Regions from separate parts of the Homo sapiens genome. Here all the other regions are linked to region 3. Evidence: promoter capture Hi-C in 16 types of primary human blood cells and fetal thymus (Javierre and others, 2016). All regions are on one chromosome and are shown on one strand. Each heading gives the region's core, a stretch centred on a gene start or on the middle of the fragment in contact. The rest is flanking DNA. Distances are from core to core; before and after follow the strand shown.

What was found. Contacts are between HindIII fragments. The CHiCAGO score rates a contact against its expected background, and 5 or more counts as called.
Region 1: a fragment that was not itself captured here is called in contact with the fragment with the promoter of CD1B in region 3 in 1 of 17 cell types (fetal thymus); the score reaches 7.2 in fetal thymus.
Region 2: a contact is called between a fragment that was not itself captured here and the fragment with the promoter of CD1B in region 3, in 1 of 17 cell types (fetal thymus). The highest score is 11.0, in fetal thymus.
Region 4: a contact is called between a fragment that was not itself captured here and the fragment with the promoter of CD1B in region 3, in 1 of 17 cell types (fetal thymus). The highest score is 6.7, in fetal thymus.

Annotation. Positions count from the first base shown.
Region 1 is chr1:158,422,944-158,426,395 of GRCh38, forward strand. OR10K2 (olfactory receptor family 10 subfamily K member 2) reads right to left here and starts at 3,294. Exons shown (of 2, transcript NM_001004476.2): 1 at 2,990-3,294. The HindIII fragment of the contact is 4,551 bases long and covers 1-3,452 here.
Region 2 is chr1:158,211,974-158,215,515 of GRCh38, forward strand. No RefSeq gene overlaps it. Among named protein-coding and RNA genes, the nearest start is that of CD1D, 33 kb to the left of the region's middle. RefSeq lists an enhancer at 152-702. The HindIII fragment of the contact is 731 bases long and covers 1,201-1,931 here.
Region 3 is chr1:158,329,562-158,333,073 of GRCh38, forward strand. CD1B (CD1b molecule) reads right to left here and starts at 1,970. Exons shown (of 6, transcript NM_001764.3): 1 at 1,802-1,970; 2 at 1,235-1,501; 3 at 291-569; 4 at 1-87. The coding sequence starts at 1,862. The HindIII fragment of the contact is 309 bases long and covers 1,923-2,231 here.
Region 4 is chr1:158,262,448-158,266,084 of GRCh38, forward strand. No RefSeq gene overlaps it. Among named protein-coding and RNA genes, the nearest start is that of CD1A, 9.8 kb to the left of the region's middle. The HindIII fragment of the contact is 1,375 bases long and covers 1,480-2,854 here.

The DNA.
Region 1 (3,452 bases), core at 85-2,584, 93 kb after region 3:
TATTTTTTATTTATTTCTAGGTTTCTTTATATATGTTATGAAAAGGCTGAACTAAGTATACTTGGAGAAATATCATAACACAGGCACTATTTAGTTTCTAAAACTTTTAATCTAAATATATAAATAGGGCAAGTAAGTACATTTGCTTCTCCTTGCTCCTGGAAGAGTGCAAGGATGTTTTCTGCTTGCATGTTCTACTTTATATCACTCCCTTCCTCAACCCCATGAAAGGGGCAATCACCCTCCTCCTCCTCTATCTTATTCCTCTGGTTCTTCGCCCAATATTTTTTTTTTTTTTTGCCTAGGTGGTTGGCATATTTATTACTATCATACTATTAACTTTCAAATTCTATATTCTCTAGTTTTTAGTACTACTAATAAATTTCTACATGTAGAATCTGAAATTTTCCTCTCACAAGCACATGTAAAGTTGAGTAATGTAGGAATAAAATAGGCTTTACATTTTGACAGATGTAGGCTTTAATCCTGACTCTGGCAAGTTCTAGTGGTAAAACCTTAATAAATTCTCTAAGGCCTATTTTCTCATTTGTATGATAAGAATAATTCCTGCCTCCTGGGCTATCATGAGAATTAATTCAGGCAATATATATGAAAGAGATTTGTCCCATAAATAAGGAGTGCTTAGTAAGTACTTCTGTTTTATTACTTTATTGTTGTTCTATAGGTATTGGTATCAGAAATATTTTCATCAGTGAGGCAATAAGCATTTAACTCATGGGAAGTTATTGAAACTGATTTTTCTGTATTTTCTCAGGAAGAGAAAATTTAAGAGAAATTATTCTTCCCTTGAGGCTCTCCAAGCCTGACTGAAAGTAACTTGGTTTTCCACGGAGTTCTGTTTTGCTCTTGAAGGGAGGCCATACATATTTAGGCATCAATCTCAACAATTTATTGAGTTCCTAAAGACTGGGGCAGATTGTCTAACAATTCTCATGTTTTACGATTTCATGATTTCTGTTACTATCTAAGCACTATAGATATAATTATGAATAAAATCATTGCCCTTTTCTCAGAGAAGAATCAAACACCTATTCATATTATAAAATAGCCTATAAACATTATAAAATAAGTATAAACAAAATGTCCTGAAAATCTGGAGGAAAAACCCAATAATTTTAGAGAAGGCTTTGAAGAACAAGTAGTATTTGAATTTCACCTGTAAGAATTTTAATAAAAGTACTGGCTGAGTCTAAATGCCATTACTTATCTAGATATTTTGATTGAACTAACTAATCTTTTCTTTAATGTTGACTGGCCTTTCAGAATTAAAATGTAAGTTTACAAAGGCCCATGAAACAAGACACACTAATTATTCTCCCTTTTCTCTTCTTCTGTTTCCTTACAATAAACTTCATGTTTCATGTTGAGGTCACACACTCAAAAAACTAGCAAACAAGTAGACAAAAACAAAGAAAAAATAAACTCAGTTATGTTTTTTGGGAGCATTATTCCATTGTGTCTATCAATATTGCTTTTGATGTTTCCAGGAAGAAAAAATAGAACACAATTTTGGTATCAGTTTATTAATCAAAATTTAGAATTATCTTGTAATAATGTAAGGCAAGTTGACATTTATCACATGCTCTGTTTGTTCTAGATTTGGTGAAAATACTGTTACATATATTCTCTCATTTGGTCCTCACAGCAACCTTATGAAGTTTTTATTACTTTTAATATCTTTATTATAAAGATAAGAAATTTGAGAATCAGAGTTTGGGGACTCCTCTTAAGTTCACACAGCTGGTGGAACCAACACTAGACTACAGTACAATCTGTGTGTGTGTGTGTGTGTGGTGAGAAAGGGAAAGCAGTATTCAACACTCTCCTTCCAGATAAAGCTATTTCAAGGAAAAGACTTCTGCTACAATTTTGTTATGGCCTCAGTTTTCAACTTTGCTATGTATTAGCTACAGGACTTTGATGAGTCTGAATCAATTTTCTCATCTTTGTAATGCGGTTCATTCATTCTGATGTCAGCTAACCTAACTTTTAAGATTTCTTTAAAATGGATGAGACAATGCTTTTGTAACAGTTGAGTGGTTTCACAGACATTATTTATGTAAGTTTAACTTGGAATTGAAAAGGGGCAGAGAGCACTGCTAGTTTTGAGAAGAACATACCTTTCACATTGCTTCCTGTACCTTTGTTGGTTTTGGGAGGGATTTAATAAAATAAAGATCATTTCATTTTTCAGGACTGGGAAAGGTATGTTGCAGTAGTTCTTGTCTCTTACTCAAGAGGTCTCCAGAAAGCCAGAGTCACAGTTACAGCTGTATATGATCTTAAAGATCTAGCTTAGTAGTTTCATCAGACAGATGAAGAAATTGAGCTTCAGAGAGTGCTATGAAGTTTCTAAGACTAGAAAGCAACTGAGTGGATGTGTTAGCAATGGAACAGAGGTCTTTTCTCTTTCAGAAGAATGTGATTTCCACAGTATTATCCTGCCTTCTGAAGATATTTGTTTCATCCATAATTACTTTCTCTTTTTTGGCAGCAGTTACTTACGGTGTTCTTTTCCTAAGTCTATGTCCTTGTGCTAGTGTTTTTGCCTGTTTCTGTTTTTGGGTTCCCAGAGGGCAGGGTTTCTTAGTCTTTATATCTGTCAATTATAACTATTTTCAGAGCATTTATTAAGTTCTCAGCACATATTAGGTATTATATCTTTGTGTAGATCCTATCTGATACAGTCCTTTCTACAAAAACGTCATTATTTAAAATTTTTAATTAAAATATTGTTGAGTGCCCTGTCAAATTAAATCAGAACCAACAGAGTGCATATAAAAATTTAGAAAGAAAAATGAATCAGTTAATTTAAGAATATATAAAATTTATATGCACAATTTTGCAGAAAAACACTTTAAAACTTAAATAATCCTGATTAACATTATTTGATGTACTTTTAATTGTGAGTCTCTCTTTCTGTTATTGGTAGTACACTTGCATGGGCTCATCACCCTTCTTCTCTTACCTGAAATGTGAAAACATAAGTCCTGCCAGAGGATAGATGTTTATTTTCATTTCCTGTCCATTGCCCAGTTTCTCAAGGTTGTAGATGCTTAGTCCAAGCAAGATGGATGTCTGTTATTCATGGAGTGCTTCCATTTTTCTCTGCCTCTCCCTAAGAGAAGCCAGGGACATAGAGGCTACAAGAGACAGAATTCAAGTTGACGTGTAGAATGGAAAAAGGTCAAAATGGGTCACAGGCTACTGATATTTACTCAGAGGTAGAGATGTGATGATGGTCTATGGTCTTAGACCCAGACCAAAGTCAAATGTAACCAGTCTCCTGCCATTTTATGTCAATTGACTAAAGATCACAAGCCACAGCTCACAGTGACCATAAAGCAGTAGGAATTTTCATTATGTTTGTTGGCAGCAGGTGGTTCTTCTGTGGGTCTCCTGATGCCAAAGCCATTGCCATGGGGACATTG
Region 2 (3,542 bases), core at 316-2,815, 120 kb before region 3:
TTCAGTATGATGTTGGCTGTGGGCTTGTCATAGATGGCTTTTATTACTTTATGTCCCTTACATGCCAGTTTTGTCAAAGGTTTTTAATCATAAAGGCATACTGGATTTTGTCAAATGCCTTTTCTGCGTCTGTTGAGGTGATCATATGATTTTTGTTTTTAATTTTGTTTATGTGATATATCACATTTATCCTCAAATTTTTGATGAGCTGATTTTGGCTGTGCCTCTGAGTGGCTAGCAATATGTTACTTATGGAAAGTCATTTTGATATCCTTTTGATGGCAGTGGAGGGCTGCCTGGAGTGGCCACTGCCATCATGCCAGCTGCAGTGGGAAGGCATGATTGGTGGCAGCAAGAGGGGCTGCAGGAGCAGCAATGGTGGTGGTGGGTTCTCTGTGCCTGTATCCCCGTGATAGCCAACTGTGCCACCCCCATCCTTGTGCAGCCAGGTGGGACCTGCTCCCAGGCCCGGAGCCTCTGCCGCTCTGGATCCTGGCTCCGCCTCACTGTTCTCGCCCACCACTGCTGCGGGGAGGGCATGGGGAGGAGGCAGACAGTCCCTGGGGCCCGCCCCTAGGATCCTCCCATGGAGCCCTCTGCCCTGGGAGCCGCTGCCATGGGACTGGGCTGGGTTACCCACCAGCGGGGGAGCAACTTGATTGGCTACAGAGGAGCAGGCAGAGAGGAGCCCCGAGGTGGAGCTGGATCTGGAGTGATGTAGCACTCCACAGAGCCAGCAGAAGCCAGGAGCAGGCAACAGCCCTGCCCTCCTGGGCCTGGCTGCAGCTTCCCAAACTGCAGCTGTGGACCCAGGCATCTCTGCACTCTTGGAGGCCTGGGAAGGTCCCCCAGCCCTTGCAGGCTCAGAAGTGCCTGCTCCTCCTGCCTGCGTTTTCCCTGCTGTCAGTGCCTGCTCTGATCTAAGAGCAGTGTGGCGCTGAGCCGAGGCACTGTCACAGCCTGGCCAATGGTGTACATGCTCAGGCAGCCCTGACACACCAGCCGCCTGCTGCCTCATCCTCCTCTGGACTTTGGGCTCTGACAAGCATGGGAGGGAGGCCGAGGGAGAGCTGAGGACAGACTGGTGCTGGCCTTCAGGTGCCTCTTGGCATAAACAGCCTGGGTGCCATGAATGGCAGTAGGAGGCAGAAGGGGGTGCGTCCCCATTGAAGCCCCACCTTCAAGCCACGGAAGGCCTGAAGCTTGGGGGATGGTCTGCCAGTTCTACAGACCACAGGGGGAACCCATGGTGCTTTATCCTGGGCCCGCTGATGGCCACCCGTGGACCAATCAGCATGCACTTCCTTCCCTTTGAGGCCCGTAAAAACCCTGGACTCAGCCAGACTCCAGGAGAGGATGTAGAGATGATAGGGAGATGGCAGGACAGGACGATGAGCTGCAGAAAGGATCTGCCCACCCCAGGGTCTCCTCTCTGCTGAGAGCTGAGGAGATGATGAGATGACCAGCTGCAGAGGGAAACTACCTTCTCTGCTGAGAGGTGGACACTTGTGGGGATGACCTACCCAGCAGAGAAGAGCTACCCTCTCTGCTGGGAGGTGAAAACACCATTGGCACACACTGGCTATGGAGAGGAGCTGCCTTCCTTTGAGCTGTTCTATTGCTCAATAAAGCTCATCTTCATCTTGTTCATCCTCCACTTGTCTGCATACCTCATTCTTCCTGGTTGCAGGACAAAAACTCAGGAGCCACCAGATGGCAAGGCTAAAAGAGCTGTAACACAAATGGGGCTGAGACATGCCCCTTACTTGAAACATTGTGGGTGAGGAGAAGAAGAGAAGAGCTGTGGCTCTTCGGGAGCCCAGACCTAAGAGCCCCCCATGCCAGGGCTGTGGCTTCCTTTTTGGGGTCCTGCAGTTCCTGGTGTCTCAAACCTTCTGGGTGCCACTGCATTCCCTGGTGCTAGCCAGGGAAGCTTCTTGCAGTGCACCTGATCCAGCCACAGCCTTGCAGAGAGCCAGCATCCATGCCAGTACCTGGAACTGCCCACCCCGTGGCAGCAGCTGGTGTGTCTGACTGTGTACAGTGGCTGGATCCCACACTCTCTCACACACCTCTTGTCACTGTGCACCTGGCTCACCCTTGGCAGGTGTGGGATCCAGACTGGTAGTGTGAACCAAGTGCAGCCTGCCAGACCAAGTGGGTGGAATGAACCCAGCAGTCTCTGAGCAAAAGTTGGATAAAGGTGCCACTGGCCGCAGAAGATTCCAGCCAGAAAATTGACACCCCAAAGATCCCGTAACACTTTCACCCCTTAAATGGATAAGGATAATCTAGATTTCTGGTTGGGAACATCCCCTTTATCATTTTCTCAAAAAGTATTTCTTAGTTCTTGTGTATAAACTAAGTATTCTAGTCATTTATGTTATTGATAGAAGTCTAAAATATTTTATATAGAATATTTGGAAGCCAATCCCAAATGACAGAAGCCCACTGGGTCTAGGCTGGTTTGTGGATTCTTGTGAATCTCTTAAGAGCATGAGGTGGTAGAAGGCAGATTGAAGTTTCATGGAAGGAGTCAACTCAAGCACAAAGACCATAGCAGGACTCATAATCTCCATCACTTAGAAATATACAGGTAGATTCTTTCAGTGTCTAGAACAAGGAGATACCATAAATGTACATGGACAAGAAAGAGACGAATTCTCCCTTTTGTGTGATGTCCCTCTGTGGATCTTCATAGGCCTACAAATCATTGCTCTGCCAAAGTATATTCTAGTAGGTACATAAAGACTTTATATATACCTAGTAGGTACATAAAAACTTTCAAAGGGGGTATAGGGATGGACAGTATTAAGGGGATAAATTTCCAAATTTTATACATACTCTTCACCAAAATTCACATGCTTAGGTAATTTTCTTGATGCTTCTAACTTCCCATGACCCTTTTCATAATTGGTTTCCCATGAGGAAAAGCATATAGCTCATCCCTCAAAAGCTTATTTTGGTGTATTGTCAAGGAATGATGCTAAACTTCAGGGGTTCTAAACAAAAGAACAATTTGAAACATTGCTGATGTGGTTGAGAAAGTAAGTTCTTCTGTTGGCTAGATAAGAAATCCCTTTTCAAATTAATTGGAGTTACTTTTTTTAATTTAAAAAACTGAAATAAGATCTAAGTGAGTTTTCATCTGTGTAATTATTAAAAATAATTTTTGGTGATATATCATTATATGAATTTTGAGGTACAACTTAGCTGGAATTCAAGAAATTATGTAACATTGTATTTAAAATTCTTTTTTTTTTTTCCTACACACCACTATGTTCTGGGTTTTTATTTCAGCAATAGCATGTCATCAACAAAAACGTTTTTAAGCTTATCTTTTTTCCAAAAGAAAAAAAAATGCATATAAGTAATATAAAACATAGCCAGGTCTAAAAGCAGTGGAGGTGCCTAAGATGGAAAATTTAAGGAGGCATTTACTGTCACTTGCACAATCTTAGTATGAAATGTACCCTTGGTGCGCTGAACACTAAACTGACAATAAAAGCTAGTTAATTTAAGATACAGTGGCAAAATAGAAT
Region 3 (3,512 bases), core at 720-3,219:
TTGGGTAGAATCCTGAGACATGGCACACAAGCTGCAGACGGCCAGGTCCAGGACTGGGGCCACTGGACAGCCAGGCCTCAGGCTTCACTAAGGCAGGAAGGAGAAAAAAAAGTGTCATGTTATAACTCGAGTTCAGAGGTTATGAACTCAGAAACCTACAAGCTTGGACAGCGACCCCATTCACTCCTTTGGGAACCAAATAACTTGTTATTTAAGCTCCTATCCTTTGATATCTTCCTACTCTTGATCTTAGAGGAGGTGGTGGGAAGTGAAATAACAGCAGGACTAACCTTGTCTTTGCAGATCTGCTTTTCCTGCATTGAGGACGCCCAAGAGATATCGGGGGCAGGTTTCATAGAGGAGAATTCTCACAGTTTCCATGATACCTTGATATTGTATGATTAGTGCACAGAATTTCTGTGCCCTGCTGCCACCTTCTGGGGAAGGCACACATGAAGCATTCTTGACACTCAGGAAATCCAATCCTCCTAGAGCTCCCCTCAGGAAGCTTACTATGGCACCTCCAGAATGTAGCTCACAGCCTGCTATGCCCTGGATCTCAAAGGGGTCTATGTAGAGGGAAAAGAGAGCAAGTTATTAAACACAAATAAGAAAAAAAGGCATGAGAAAAGAACCTAGGATTTTAGATTTTGGTGGGGATAAAGTTATTTGGTGTAAAATGATGATGAGCTAAAAACTAATGATAACATTTAGACATTTTCAGAAACAAGAGCATTGAGAAAAATGTGCATGCCATGAAGACAAAGGTATGTGATAAAGGAGTACAGTGAGTATGAAAGGAGAGGTGAGGCAGAGCGTGGTGCAGTCAGGAGTGCAGCATTCCAGAGTGAGTGGAGGTTCCCAGCAAGAGGAGGGTGCGGGGAGGAGATGATTGAAAAGATGGATTAGGGGAGAAAGCCACACGTTAGATCACTCAGGCACAGGGTAGGAGAAGTAAGGGCCCTTGAGGAGAAGTTTCACATAAGACAAACCAGCAGCTGGTTACAAAGTGGAAGACAGTCTGAGAGTAAGAGAAGAGTGCAGAGGCAGCAAGAATCTGAAATATGAGGTGTGATGGTGTGAAGCTGGAGTGAGAGACTACTCAAGAAAAGCATGTGCGTGCATTTGGGTAAAATAGAAAGGAAGGGAGAAGCATCAGAGAGAGCAACACTTTGCAAAAAAGAGAGAAAAGAGAGTCCTTGAGACTCTTCCCAGTTCGGTGGACTAGACTCACATTTCATCTGGAAATCACCGGCAAAGTCTTGTACTTCTCGAGCGAATCCAAAGATGTAGACTCGGAATATCTCCTCTAACTCAGCAACCTCCTTATCACTAAAGTTACCTTTAGACCAAGGCTTCAGGAATATGGCAGTGCCTGAGTCGCTATCCCAGCCATGAATCTGCAAATCATCCAACCAGCCTGAGCCTTGAGTTTGTGCCCAGGTACTATTGGTAAAGGACGAGGTCTGGATAACATGAAAGGAGGTCGGCCCCTGGAAGGCTGTGAAGAGTGGAAAAGCAAGATGGTGAAGATAAAGAGAGAAGCAGGAGACAATTAGGAAGAATGGGAATGAAAATGATTTAGAAAACAAGAACCTAGAGTCTAAAGAACACAGGAAGTCTGACACATTTGACTGCCTTAAGGCTTCAGGTTCTAGTCCCAACCACCAGAATGGTTGAAGAGGGCGGGAGACAGAAAGACCCAGACCCTTAGTGTCCAATTGCACCTAGGAAAGCCCTGCTTGCTTTTTAAAATCCAAACCCCTGCACCAGTGCTGGGAGCTGCCAGAGTGACTCTTACCATGTTCACTGTTACCACCAGGAAAGAGAACAGCTAACAGTTGAAATGGCAGCAGCAGCATTTCACTGGGAGATGCAACTTCTTACTGGCAGAGCTGGTATTTGATCTCCAATTTCAGCAAAGCTTTTCCTCAGTACCCTGTAGTGACTTCTTCTCTCTTCCAACTGCCAAATCTCTTCCTCATCCAAACTGCTTTTCAGAGAAAAATGTGCCTCCCACAGCCCTGAGCCTCTTACCTCACCTTTTATTTCCCTCAAGCCCTGATTTTTAGAGTTTCTCTTACCCCCTGACTTCCAGCCGCTCTCCCTGTCCTCACCTTCCTTCATACCTCCTTGGAAAAGCCCCCATATGATTCTGCATTTTCATTTCTCCTTCCTTAGCCTTTATTCCCACATCTATAGGATAAGATGGTGATATTAAGCAATTGCTAAGCTTTTAGTCTGCTTTAACCCAGAAGGATGCTTTTAGTTTATCCACCTCACTTAGTTTCTCCCCCTCCCAGCTGCCTTATCTTCTCTGGCACTCTGTTACTGCCTCTTCCCAATGTTTTCAATGTCTTCTCTTTCTTATATTGCCCTCTTTGTCTGGTGTTCCTTACCCCACATTCTAAACTGGCTGTGAGTGTGTGTGTGTGTGTGTCTGTGTCTGTGTGTGTATGTGTATGTGTGTGTACCGATATTCACTTACATAAAGGCAAAGCATTTAAAACATTTCCTGTACTATAGCACTACAAACCAAAATGCCAGAATCAAATATAATAAAGACTGAAGTTTATAATTCAAACAAAATTATACTATAGCAATATTTGAGGGAAAAAATGACAATTGCTGCTAGCATGTGACCTTCTCTTCAGGAGCTCTTGGCCTATGGAGTTTTGAGTAACAAATATTCATGACATAAACAGAACTCTAGGAGCTATGCTATGTGCACCTCCAGCCTAAGTCAAAGATAACTTTTTGGGTAAGTTGCCATAAGCGGCAGAGCTTTTTTCTTCTCTTGTAATATCTCATAACTGCTGTCTACATTTGGGCATTCATATCACCACATGTGGTATTAATAATAGAGCAAAGAGGTTGCTTTTTTTTATACAAAAAGTTCAGAGATACTTGTTTTAAGATGTCACCTCCTATCTTCTTGTATGCCCATGAAAAATTTTAAGAAGAATTTTTGGATTTTCTCCATTTAGGAAAAAAATCACATATTTGCAGAGATCTATGTATCATGCAGAAATGTGGCAGCAATCGATTCCGAGTAAAGAGGGTTATCACTAACTAATTCTATTATGTGGATAAGAAAATGCAAAGTGAGTAGTGTAGTGTTCTCTATTCCTGGGGACACTACTGGTTCACAACATTAATAAGACTGGTTCACAACATTAATAAGACTAGCCTTCATCCAAGATTATTACTGCCTAATTGATAAATACAGAGCAGCTCTCCAAATTTCAATGTATGTATCTCTTAACAACATTCCCAGACTCCAATACATGACAGAATTGAATCTACTTTTTGGATAACAGCCATAGACAACAGCAGAGACTTAACATTGGCTGTCACAGACATGAACATTACTATTTTTGTGTTTATACGTTTTTTATTTTGGGTAGAACACCCAAAACAGAGCTCAGGAAAAGCTGGTAGACAACCTGGGCTATTTTCCATTAAAATAAGTGAGTTCTTGCAAGACTCCCAAAGTTGAATTGCTACAAACT
Region 4 (3,637 bases), core at 917-3,416, 67 kb before region 3:
GTTTATATGTGTTTATGTGTATGTACATTTATTATGTTGTATGTTGTGTCTACCAAATTGGCTTATAAATAAAAGAGCATCTTATACACTAAATAAATAAATCTAAGGAATTTTCAATTTTATGTGACTTAAGTAAATGTTTATTTAAAAAGCTGGCTTTAAAGTCATTAGTAATAAAAAAATAAGAATGTCTTAACAGTGTTAGAATACATTTTCGTCTGGGTTTTATAATTGTCTTTGCTAGATACTTTGAGGTGTCAGTGTTTGGCACAGAGGGTTATAAAAGTATAAACCCAGCCAAAACAAAATGATCTTTGTTTGTGTGCCTTCTTTGGCAAATAAGACTAAGTAAATGTTGTTAGTTTAATAAAAACAGTTGAATCTTCTAAGTTATTGGCAAAAATACCTATGTATTTAAGTTGCTTACTTAGGTGAGCACCTAATATTCATAGGCTACAAATAATGGTCAACAGAGCAATAACCTGAAATGACGACTACCTTTGTCTAATATCTCAGTTTTCAGAACCCACTTATATAAATTTTTTTTTTTCTTTTTTTGAGACGGAGTCTCGCTCTGTCGCCCAGGTTGGAGTCCAGTGGCGCGATCTCGGCTCACTGCAAGCTCTGCCTCCCGGGTTCGCGCCATTCTCCTGCCTCAGCCTCCCGAGTAGCTGGGACTACAGGCGCCCGCCACCAGGCCCGGCTAATTTTTTGTATTTTTAGTAGGGACGGGGTTTCACCGTGTTAGCCAGGATGGTCTTGATCTCCTGACCTCGTGATCCGCCTGCCTCGGTCTCCCAAAGTGCTGGGATTACAGGCGTGAGCCACTGCGCCTGACCTATAAATTGTTTAAAAAGATGAAAGAATTGAATACATGTAAATGGGATACATGCTTGTAGGTGAGCTTTTTGTGTAATTTAAAATCTTAAAATTATTTTTGATGCTTCTTGGATGTCTGGCTCATTTCCAGTTAAGAAAGGGTTATGATATGGAGAAACATGTTTTTATAAATTGTGGAATGTTTTCATCTATAAAATGCAAATATTTGATAGACAGTTAAAGATTTCTTGCTTCCTAGTTTTCACTAAAATTTAAGGTTACTAAGAATAAGAATTGTAGTTAATATATAATTTAGTATATAAAACCTGCCAAAGAAGGTGTTTTCTTATTGAGAAATGGAATAATTTTGTCTAATTCAAATGTTTTCTAAAGTTTGATCCCAATTATGGACTCGAAAAACTTATTTATGAAATAAGGTAGAAAGGAACCAGCAAGTAGGGAAGAGAGATGTGAAGAAAGTTAAGAACATAAAGATGTATTTTTGGCAAGAAAGGTTAAAAAGAAAAGAGGATAATTTTATACAAGTATCTTTTCTTTTAGACTTTTATTTTAGGTTTGGGGTACGTGTGCAGGTTTTTTATATAGTAAACTCATGTTGTGGAAGTTTGTTGTACAGATTATGTCATCACCCAGGTACTAAGCTTAGTACCCAATAGTTATTTTTTTCTGCTCCTCTCCCTCCTCTCATCCTCCATCCTCAAGGAGGCCCCAGTGCGTGTTGCGTGTTGTTTTCTTCTTGGTGCTCATGAACTCTAATCATTTAGTTCCCACTTAAAAGTAAGAATATGTGGTATTTTGTTTTCTGTTCTTGCATCAGTTTGCTAAAGATAACGGCCTCCAGCTCCTTCCATGTTCCCACAAAAGATATGATCTCATTCTTTTTTATGGCTGCATAGTATTACATGGTGCATAGGTACTACATTTCCTTTATCTAATCTGTCGTTGATGGGCATTTAGGTTGAATCCATGTTTGCTATTGTGAATAGTGCTTCAGTGAACATTTGTGTGCATGTGTCTTTACGGTAGAATGATTTATATTTCTCTGGGTATATACCTAGTAATGGATTGCTGGGTTGAATGGATATTTCTGTTTTCAGCTGTTGGAGGAATCACCATACTTCTTTCCACAATGGTTGAACTAATTTACACTCCCACCAACAGTGTATGTGTGTCCCCTGAGAAAACAATCTGACAGCATTTTTTTTTTCCTAAAAATAAATGAATTTTTTAAAAAAAATTTAGGACAAAACAGAAAGTTCAAGCATGACACAGATGCCTTGTTGAAGTCATATGTTGTTTTCTTTCTGTTTCTCTGTGTGTTTATCTTCATGTACATAAACAGAAAATAAAAAGTTGAAAAGTTTATATAGTAAATATCCTTTAAAAACTGATAGAAAATTGGAGACATTTGACTAATTAACATTGTTCACCGTTAAAGCTCTTAGTCTTGATGAAGGTACAATAAGAATTATTATAAATAAATACATTGGCAGTTTGATAATTCTTTTTAAATATAGTTAAGCCTGAAGCCAGATTTAACATGGAGTCAAATTTTACATAAATGCTTGCATTGCTTTGTTTCACACTGTATTTGTTATTCTACATAGAAAGTACTAGCACTAAGGTACTTATTGGTTACATGCCTAAAGTGAATTTCTTAATTGCACAAAATGTAGAGTGGTACTGGTGGACTTAAACACATTAATTAGTATATCAGAAACAGAATATCATATTTTTTTAGGCCCTGGATAACACTGTAGACTCCAAGGTAAACTAAGTAAGAGAAAATTTGGGAGTTATTTTCCTGTTGGTTTTGCTTTTAATTTTCATTTATTTGCTGTTTGTTCTCCTTTGGGTTTTACTTATATTTACATACATATAAAACAATTGGTGTTTTTTAGTTTCTACTGTAAGGCTTGTATTTGGTTCTATGAATAGTCATTTTGTTTCCTATGCATTTCCAAAGGCTTATCATTTGCTCTATTTATCTAAAATTCCTAAGCTGTCTTTGTCAAGCTTCCAAAAATTGGCAGAGGACAGCAGCCATTTAAAATTTGGACTGGGGCTGGGTGCAGTGGCTCATGCCTGTAATCCCAGCACTTTGGGAGGCCAAGGTGGCTGGATCACCTGAGGTCAGGAGTTCCAGTCCAGACTGGACAACATGGCAAAACCCTGTCTCTTCTAAAAATACAAAAATTAGCTGGGGGTGGGATTACAGTAATCCCAGCTACTCAGGAGGCTGAGGCAGGAGAATAGCTTGAACCCAGGAGATGGAGGTTGTGGTGAGCCAAGATTGCACCACTGCACTCCAGCCTGGGTGACAGAAGTGAGACTCTGTCCCAAAAAAAAATAGTTGAATTTTACTTTGTAAAATTAAGAATTTCTCTTCAACAAACTACACACTGAGAAAAATTAATGCGTAGACAATTAAGAAAACTATTTGGAATTCTAACAATAAAATGGGTATATATAACATATATGAGATATACACCCATATATGAATTTGGAGATGTTTGTTGATTAAGTATACATGTGTAGAAACAACAGACCAGACTGTTGCGAAGGTCTTCAAGAAAGTGCTGAATGCAATGCATCAATACACGAAGCATACAGTACAATACCTGTATTGCAATTAGAGTTGTACACATCAAATAGTACCACTTTTTTTCTTTTATAATTGAGATTTTATTGGTTGTGTTGAGGGTCAGTACACAGATATTTCAATTCTTAATATATGTACTGAAAATCTAAAAAGCCATGTATTGTAATTATTTTTTAAAGTTGTTCCAGTAACTTT